Linked DNA regions of Homo sapiens: all the other regions are linked to region 2. Evidence: promoter capture Hi-C in 16 types of primary human blood cells and fetal thymus (Javierre and others, 2016). All regions are on one chromosome and are shown on one strand. Each heading gives the region's core, a stretch centred on a gene start or on the middle of the fragment in contact. The rest is flanking DNA. Distances are from core to core; before and after follow the strand shown. Region 1 overlaps RBFOX2 (RNA binding fox-1 homolog 2). Region 2 holds the start of APOL6 (apolipoprotein L6). Region 3 overlaps RBFOX2 (RNA binding fox-1 homolog 2).

Evidence for each region. Contacts are between HindIII fragments. The CHiCAGO score rates a contact against its expected background, and 5 or more counts as called.
Region 1: a fragment that was not itself captured here is called in contact with the fragment with the promoter of APOL6 in region 2 in 1 of 17 cell types (M1 macrophages); the score reaches 6.0 in M1 macrophages.
Region 3: a contact is called between a fragment that was not itself captured here and the fragment with the promoter of APOL6 in region 2, in 2 of 17 cell types (endothelial precursors and total CD4 T cells). The highest score is 6.8, in endothelial precursors.

The regions. Positions count from the first base shown.
Region 1 is chr22:35,772,799-35,776,050 of GRCh38, reverse strand. The region is part of intron 5 of RBFOX2 (RNA binding fox-1 homolog 2); the gene reads left to right. Among named protein-coding and RNA genes, the nearest start is that of APOL5, 57 kb to the right of the region's middle. The HindIII fragment of the contact is 1,489 bases long and covers 772-2,260 here.
Region 2 is chr22:35,646,979-35,650,221 of GRCh38, reverse strand. It overlaps APOL6 (apolipoprotein L6), which reads right to left and starts at 1,776. Exons shown (of 3, transcript NM_030641.4): 1 at 1,599-1,776. RefSeq lists an enhancer at 1,772-2,071. The HindIII fragment of the contact is 8,876 bases long and covers 641-3,243 here.
Region 3 is chr22:35,749,263-35,752,424 of GRCh38, reverse strand. All of the region lies in intron 11 of RBFOX2 (RNA binding fox-1 homolog 2), which reads left to right. Among named protein-coding and RNA genes, the nearest start is that of APOL5, 33 kb to the right of the region's middle. The HindIII fragment of the contact is 777 bases long and covers 1,067-1,843 here.

The sequences.
Region 1 (3,252 bases), core at 267-2,766, 130 kb before region 2:
TATTCTTAACTAGAATCTAACAACTAGAAGGCCAATGTAGTTTCATCAGGCATTGAGGACTTACTCCTTACCAAGAAAATAATTTGTTTGAATTATTGTGAAGCAAAGGAAATTGATCTTTCTTAAGGCTTCTTTCATTGACTTTAAGGATTTGCCTGCTACCAATTCTTTTTCTTTTCTTTTCTTTTCTTTTTTTTTTTTTTTTTTTTGAGGCAGATTCTCGCTCTGTTGCCCAGGCTAAAGTTGCATTGGCACAGTCTTGACTCACTGCAACCTCCGCCTCCTGGGTTCAAGCAATTCTTGTGCCTCAGCTTCCCGAGTAGCTGGGATAACAGGCGCACACTACCACCCCTAGCTAATTTTTGGTATTTTTAGTACAGACAGAGTTTCACCATGTTGGCCAGGCTGGTCTCAAACTCCTGGTCTCAAGTGATCTGCCTGCCTTGGCTTCCCACAGTGCTGGGATTACAGGTGTGAGCCACTGCATCCTGGCCCCACATTTTTTTAAATTTACCTGATCCAATTACTTCTCTCATGTAACTCATTTGAAAGTAATGACATGAGCTTTCTCTTTGAGAAATCTAAAAGCATAGGCTGCTTCTGTCAGCTTGATGCTGTGTCCTCACTGCCCCATTTTTCTTTGGGCTGCTAAAGGGTGCACAGACTGTGTACTAATTGGTAAATGTTTTAAAAACAAAGCATAGAATTCAGAATTGCCCTGAATCTGCCTTCAAGGACTGATACAAAACCTTGTTTTTGTCCTTTGAAGCTTTCTTAACTGCTACCTAAAGTTATTTGCTGGAATGGGTGCCCTTGGAACTGTTCTGAGGCTCCTAATAGAGATTTATTTTGGAATCAAACCCATGGATGCCTCCTCTGGGATCCACCTAAGAGAAATTAATGAGCACTTTTTGTTTTGTGAATTAAGTTTAGTTTCTTAATCCTTTTATATGTTTGGGGTTGACTGTAAAATTACAGCGTATTTTGAAAATAACCAGAGAAAAGGAGGCTTTATATAGTCCTATTGTTTAGCTAAGAGTTCCTCTAACTTTTAAACAGAGTGCTTTTCTGTACAGAAATTAGCTTTATTGAATTTTTTTAGAGCAGTAATGGAAAAACTAGTCACAAAATAACTCTAAGATAGCAATACTTAATGTAAAACAGGGTTTAATCAAATTGTTCCAAAGCAAAAAGCAACTCCATACCATATCTTATTTTGTATAATAAGACCATCACCCAGGGTTTTAGGATATACCCATTTGAAAACATAAGTAAACGGTGTTCCACTGCCATGCTCATGCCCTCCTTGTCTGCCAGTATTCTTCTTTTTCCAGCTTGCCTTTAAAGTAGAATTACTCTATAGTAGTTTTTTCTTAGTTGTTGACTAGTTTTTTCCTTTTTTCCTTCTTTTGCCTTCATATTCTAGATTTGGCTTACTTAGATTATAGAATGAATATATATCATATTTGTGCACACACGTGCATACATATATATTTAAATTATTTCATGTGAATTTTAGTCTTTTTACTCCCTAATCCTTTATAAAAACATAGAATCACCTGTATCTAAGTTTCTTTGATTAACTGAAACAGAGATAGACTAGGCTTTTAAAAATGTACTATTAAGATATATGATGGAAAGTGGTATTCCTGCCAAAAAATTAACTAATTTATTCATATAGAACCTAGAAAATTATTATATGAGTTTATGTAGCTTTGTTAATTCTCCAGATTTCACCAGTAATGACAGATTATTAACACAAATAATAAGATAATGCCTAGAGTGACCATATTTCCTGGCTTATCCAGGCTAGCCTCAATTTACACCTGTTATCTTAGCATAATTATTAATAAATGACCCCTTTCTCTCTCAGAATGTCCCAGTTTGAATGATAAACTATTTACTCTCCTTATATATGCTTTGGGTAACATCTTAAAAAAGCAGTCTTTGAAAAGGAAAACATGATGCTTAATGAAAAGTATAAAGAAAAAAATACATAGTTTATTAAAGAGAAATGTGCACTAGTGATATTCTCATGTATCCTTCTAGTCTTATTTTCTCATATAGAACCTTAAAACATAACCCAAAATGGTCACCTAGTTCAGCCCCCTGTATTCTTGACCTTGCATTCTCTGCTAGAAACTTTTAGTGATTAAGAACTTGTTTTATTCAAAAGTTATTCCATTGTGGGTCAGACTTTCTACCATCTTACTCACCATCATCCAACCACATAACAATTTTTGGTGATAATTATCAAGCTTATTAAATAAAGAAATACACAGATTGTAACATTTACATTTTCTATAAGTTTTTGCCAAAATACTTTGGTATATCCTCTATTGAATGGATATGTATTAAAATATTGAATATGCTGAAGTTGTTCAGCTCTTCAGATAGTGCTCATTATTAAGTCTACTAAAGGACTACAAATATTATACAGCCCAGCAATAATTATTTAGATTTCTAGCAATTTTTTTTCTTTTTTAAAAATTGATAGATATTAGATGTACATATTTTCAGGGTATATGTGATAATCTGATACATTCATATAATCAAATCAGAGTAATTGGGATAGCCATCACCTTAAATATTTATCTTTTCTTTATGCTAGGAACATTCTAATTATTCTAGCAAATGTTTACTTAATGTGTTCTCATTACTTCTCTCAGGTAGATTTCTGGAATAATGGGGATCTAGGTTTAGGTTGGGCTTAAGTTTAGGCTGTAGTTAGGGGAGATAAAACTTCTATTCCCATTCCTTAGACACAAGTAATTTGCTGTAATGTTTTCCCTATTATCATGGCTTTTAATTTCATGCAAAGGGAAATTATTTATTTCTTTCAAAATATTATCAAAATACTTTTTTGGAAGTCACAGTAAGTAGGCCTTTTGACTTTCAGTAAAACTTAATAGGTAATGTCAAAGTGAAATGGTTTTTATTATATTTAAAACAGAATTAACAGTGCATGTGTTTCTGAAGGGCTTAGTTTGTTTTTTTTTTTTCTTTTGTTACCATTATGGGCTTTAGTTTTATATTTTTTTTATTTATTTTTAAATTTCTGTGTTCTGGCCATACCCAGGAGATCTGTCTGCTTTTGATTTCTCCCTTAAAAGTTACATGGTAAATTTTCTTTCTCATTCTTCTGAGATCGAAAAATTCAAAAATTATACAAATTTTAATAATATTTTTACAATGTTCATTCTATTGCTAGTTATTTATTGCAGTCTGAGGCCAGACTAAAAAGGTGACAGT
Region 2 (3,243 bases), core at 527-3,026:
TTTGGTATGTGAAGCTAGGTTTGGTTTAGGGGGCTTGGCACCTTTAAGAGTTTACTTTCACCAGACATACATCTACCTGCTTTACACAGTGACCCAGTGAGATCGGTGCTAAGATGATGCCCATTTTACAGAGGTGCAAACTGAGACATAGGGAGGCCAGTGTCACACAGTAAGCAGGAAAGCCTGTGCAATTCCAGCCACGCAGAGTCTGGAGTAGTTGGTCCCAAACAGGGCGTGTTTGCTCCTCAGGGACACTGCTAATATCTGGAAACATTTTTGATGGTCTCAGCTGGAGAGGGTACTGCTGTTGGTATGTAGAGGGCAGAGGCCAGGGATGCTGCCAAGCACCCTACGATGCAGAGGACAGCCCCCACAACCAGGGATCACCTGGTTGAACATGACAAGGTTGCTGGGGGTAAGAGACTCTGGTCTGGAACCCCATTTTTTACCAGCGTCCGCCAATACCTCTCTCATTTTTTTACATTAGTCCTATGGGATGCAGGGCAAAGGTAACAGCAGGAAACTCATCTAAGCAGGTCCCATTCCATCCCCTCTGACCTGCTCTTGGTGGTTGCGAGAGGATTTGCTTGTGAGAGGTTTATTGGAAGAGGATTTGAGAACTTACTTTCATTTGAAAGCTTACAGGATATTTATGACAGTCTTTCCTTACCTGCCTTCCCCCACAAAACCAACTTCTGCAGATACACAATCTAAGTAAGAAAAATCTGCTTACTTTGAAAACACAGCTTCAAGATAACCTCCCTAGATTTTTTTTTTTTTTTTTGAGACCGGGTCTCACTCTGTTGCCCAGGCTGGAGTGCAGTGGTGCGATCACTGCTCACTGCATTCTTGACTTCCTGGGTTCAAGTGATCCTTCCACCTCAGCACCCTCCCAAGTAGCTGGGACTACAGGTGTGCACCATCACGCCCAGCTATTTTTTGATTTTTTGTAGAGACGGGGTCTCACTATGTTGCCCATGCTGGTCTCAAACTCTTGGGCTCAAGCAATCCGCTTGCCTTAGCCTCCCAAAATGCTGGGATTACAGGCATGAGCCACTGCGCCTGGCCTAGTCGCCCTAATATTTATCACAAACTCCCTCACCCTCTTCCCCAAACAACTTCACATAAATCTACAATCTAGAAAACTCTGTAGGTTGGCTTTGCAGTTTCTAGACAACTCACCCAGCACCTTTTTTCTTGTGAGATGACACCCCTAAACCACTCCTCTACTGAATTTCTAGGGAAACGCCTGTGGCTGATGTAATCATCTGCTTTCTAAGGGCCAGGTCCCCTCTGCCTAAGCCCTCGGATCCCCAGCAGTGGAGGGACAAATGCAACTTGGCTAGTCACATCGCATGCTTTAGCATGTTTCAATTTAACCCTGAAATGGCTGTAAGGGAGGGAAACCTACCAGGATTAACACAGGAGAAGTTAATCCTCAGACTCTCCTCAAGCTCTGGCTGGCATTTGAACCCCGCTGCTTTCACAGCAGCTCTTTTCCCTGAGTCAGGTGCCTAAAGCCAACCCCTTGGGGGCTCTGTCCTTCAGGGACCAGAGCGGCAGCCCCCTCCTCCCCCGACTTCTGCCCGCCGTCTCACCTTCTCTCCACGGAGCTCTCCTTTGTGGCCTTGGGTCCCGAGGGAGAGGAAGATCCTGAACCTCTGTCCTTGCCTCTCCGAGGTCCCCTGGTCTGGCAGGGGGCTGTGAGTGTCTGGGCTGGAGAAAGACGGATAGGAAGAGTAGGGTGGCCTTTGAACAGGAATTGATTGCAAAACTGGTTTCGGTTAAGTGCTGCAGGAGAGAAAAAGCAAAGCTCTAGGGCTCTTCCAGGAAATCATGGGCTCCAGCTGTCACTTTCAGTTTCCTTTTTGCCAGTTTCTCTAATTGGATGAACAAGGAGGTGAAAGAGCAGAATCCAAGTCAGGAGGCCTGAGTCTCTCGTCTCTGTCCTGGCTGTGTTATAGGATGGACCTATATGGGGTATGAAAATAGCTCCTGTGGCTTAGAGCTATGGTGAGGAGCCCATGAGCAAGCGATGGGGCGCCTGTTGAATAGTGGATTCACAGTAGCTGTCATCACTGATTGTTCTGAAACTGCTTTCCTCCACAGCATCTTACGTGACGCTGATGTGGGTAACAACCCTATGAGGTGCACAGCATTAAAGGGCTAATAACTCTGAATGCAGAATCCTCTGAAAATGGAAACTTTATTTTATTATTATTATTATTATTGTTTTTTGAGATGAAGTCTCGCTCTGTTGCCCAGGCTGGAGTGCAATGGCACGATCTCGGCTCACTGCAACCTCCGCCTCCTACGTTCAAGCTATTCCCCTGTCTCAGCCTCCCTAGTAGCTGAGATTACAGGCACCTGCCACCACGCCCGGCTGATTTTTGTATTTTTAGTAGAGATGGGGTTTTGCCATGTTGGCCAGGCTGGTCTCAAACTGCTGACCTCAAATGATCCATCCATCTAGGCCTCCCAAAGTGCTGGGATTACAGGCGTGAGCCACCGCACCTGGCCTCAGAATGAAAACTTAAAAAAAAATGATAATTTATTCATTTAGTGGCAAAACCTGACCTGATCTGGCATGAATTCACCTGTGGTTTTTATGTCTCCTGCTTAATTTGAATATTTACAGTCACTGCAGAAATATTAATATGTTTGACTGAGGAGGGCTGCTGCGGGTGCGTGGGTTACATAGTACACGATACCTGCACCCCATTACCTTTCTAAAAATCCCCCAAATCAGGAACTCTGACATGCATCTGGCCTCAAGGATTGGAGATATAGGATTGTGATACTCTGTCTCCCACTTTAAGGAAGAGGAAACCCAGGCTTCTAGAAGTTGTGGGTTGTTTGTGATTACACAGCTAAGAACCAGTCCTAGGCTCTGTGTCTACAAGAATGAGCCCACAGTGAGGTTACGGGCTGAGATCTGTGTCTCTCTAGCATTTGTGTCAAATTGTGATCAGAAGCCATGTGGTTTGTTTGTATTTATATGCCCAGAAGTCCCCAGTCACCACCCCTAGCTGAGACCACATTGGAGGCTGTTGCTTTGCAGAAGGTGCGGCCCACCTAGCCAGTCCTGGCTTTGCTGTGATAGAGGCCACCTCCTGTCCCTGGGCCCTACGAGCAGGAATGAGGGGTTAAGGGCTGCTGAGTTGGGTCTTGTAGGGGCCTTTCCAACCGTGGCATCCCGGATTCCACAACCCACCCCTGCTCCTGGCCTCCCACACTTGGGGA
Region 3 (3,162 bases), core at 206-2,705, 100 kb before region 2:
TGGCACTTCCTCTAAAATTAAGTGCTCCTGTCCTCTTGACACATATCCCAGCCAGGTGTGTAATATGCACTGTCCCATCACTGCCACCTCTTTTAATCTGTCAGTCACATGTACCTGTGGTATTTAAACTGTTTTTTTATATTTAGATCTTAGCAGTTGGGGACATTTTCTTACTACTATAAATTTAGAAAAGAGAAAAAAGAGGAAGTAGAACTGTACAAATAGGATTTCTGAATCCCACATTGGGCCCTGTAGTGAGATACCAGTTGTAATTGGACTGTGCTGCTACATAAGTTTGAAGTTGCCTTAAAAATCTAGACATATGGGACTCAAACATTGAGACATGCATTTCCCTTGGCCTCTTCTCCTTTCACCTAAGAAGATCAGTGAGTTCATTTGGATAATAGCATACTTGTTAGAAGGATTGCTGATAGCTGGATGCTAGGAGAAAGAAAATAGTCGATGGCTTTTCACAATCCAGTTTATTTATGTGGCTACCCAGCAAGATTTTGGAAATGAACTAATTTGGGGAGATGTGGAATAATAATGTTTGAAAGGTTTGATTATTGAAAATCGTCTCTCATCTACCATAGAAATAATAGGTGGAAGACATCAGGTTGATCATAGCAATTTTTTCCCTTAACCCCAATTTTAAACAATAATAAGATAAAATTTAAATACTTTAAAATTTTTTTCATAAGTACTTTTCAAAGGAGACAGAGCTCAATCAAAAGCAGTGACGGTATCACCATTATTGTAAGTTTGTGTGTTACTCACATTTAATCAGTGATGCCATTTTGCCACAAAAGAACTCTATAATATCTCCTAGAACCATGGTTCTTAGCAGGGGTGGGGAGGTGGTGAGGAAAAAGAGGGAGTTAGATTCATCCAAGGATAAATAAAGTGATTCCTGGAGGCCCAGCATTAAACCCACGCTAGTTGGAATAGATCTCTGCTCTGCTGTAGTGATTTTCAGCATCACACCTGCCATTCCTTACCCACCCCCTGCCGCCATCCCCCAACCCTCTGCTCTATTGATCTATACACTACATGTAGGTAACAAGCTTTCATTTTGTCTGCTGGTCTTGAAATACACACTCTCCTCCTCAGTGTCACATAATGTCATTGTCTTCCGGGTAGAAAGAAGGTGTCTTGACATCACATGCTCACCAAAGTCCTGTTTTAATGTAAACCTAAAACAAAAATATAATAAAATTAAAAGCTAGGTTAAAATCAAGACAAGGCAAAAGTCTGCCAGTGTGAGATTAAACTAATAAATATGCAGATAAAGGTCAGATATAGGAGGGATTATATTCTATTGTATTTTGCTCTAGTTTAAAACCCAGCTACAGAACTGTGCCGAAAGATCATGTGGTCAACGTGGCAACATCATAAAGTTAATTTGATGATAAAATTGGCTCAGAGCAGAGTAGAAAAGCCCTAGGAGATGACATTGAGCCATGAAAAACTGAGACTTTAACAACTGCAGAAAACACTGGAAAGGATCTTAAAGCCAACTTTTCAAAGGCATTTTCCTTTGAAGAAGCTGGAACTTGAAGTCAGAGATAGGTTACAGATATGTGAAAAAGTAAAATTCCTAAACACAGGAAATATTTTAGCAGAATGCTGTGGATTAGAATATACGGTTGTTGACAGAGGGCGAGCATACATGTGAGTGCTGTGGGTCAGGACTGAATTATATTGCCAGTGTCAGGCAGGTTGAATAGGGGAGCGATGAAGCACTGGGCAGCCCCACTGGGGACACCAGGTATCATTCAGAATGAATTGCAAAGGAATAAGAATAATTCTTTTTAAAGGGGCATGTGTGTATCTGAATCAAGCTTAGCCAAGCCAAATTTATCCAGCTATCAGAGTTCCAAAAAGCCGTCCGTGTGTGCCCTCCTACATTAGGGTGTGCTGTGGCCATGCTAATCCCCATTTTTTGTTTTATTTCAAATCACACACAGATAGAATCTGCAAACTGCTTCAGATCAAACAGGTCTGATTGTGTGTAAATACATATGTCCTTTTTAATTTTTATTATTAATGGTTGCTTCAGTTTTGCATCAGTGCATGGTTAAAAGCAATACACATCAGCTATTTCATGACTTCATATCTCCAAATGAATTATTTCTCCTCTTTTTTTGTTTGTTTGTTTGTGCAGTCAGCTGAAGAAATGTTAACATCTCACTCTAAATCTCTCAGTGGAGTCTCTGTTCCCTTCTCTGATATAACAGATGGGTTACTGCTTGTTATAATTATTAACATTGTGGTGTGGGCCAGGGCTAGGGTGGGCAAGATTGACTATTTCTTTGGGCTGGGGAGGGGCCAGTCGTTAGGGTATGGAATGTTAACTCAAGTGGTGACTGACTGTTTCCGTAATACCAGGTCGTTGTGGCTGCACGCTCTAGTAATTGAGGCTGTGTACTTCACCGAGCTTGTGGTAGAGCCTAGGGCAAACCGCTGTCCCAAGAGAATGCTGGGATAGATAGAGTTAGCCAATACGAGTCTGAACGTGGTGATTTTGCTGGTTGTTTAGCTCCAGATGTTGGCATGCTTAGTTTTTAATGTGATTAATAAATGTGGCGCCATATCCCTCCCCACGCCTGAACCCTGTCTCTTCTACCTCCTTCCCACCCTTGTTCTTTTTGAAAAACTTAAGAAACAGTAATGAAAACCTTGGTGTTTCAAACTGCACTTTGTTCTCATGTTTTATAAAAGCCTTTAGATTTGCTAGTAAGAGTGAAAGCTGAAAAAACGGTTTCTCAGCCTGAAATTTCTATGCACTTTGAAATCTGGAATAGAAATAAATATATCTGAATTTTCTTTTTCTCACATTTTGTGATATGTTTTGTTGAATAAAGCAGCAAAAATACTTTCGAGTAAGTGTATGTGTGTGTGTGCGTGTGTGTGTGTAAGAGAGAGAGAGAGGAATACATCCATGATACACAATTAATTTTTCTACTTTTGGAGTAGTCATTAGTGAATTACCAAGTTAGTTTAGTAGGATATTGCCTATCTATCCTAAAATAGTTCATCTTTTAAAGGTTTCTCTGTAATGCCATTATTATAAAGTAATCAGGAGAATAATCATGTTAAAGTCATCTGCTTTAAAAAAAACTCTTCATGTGTTTTTTCTTAGTGCTGATATTCTTGAGCCTT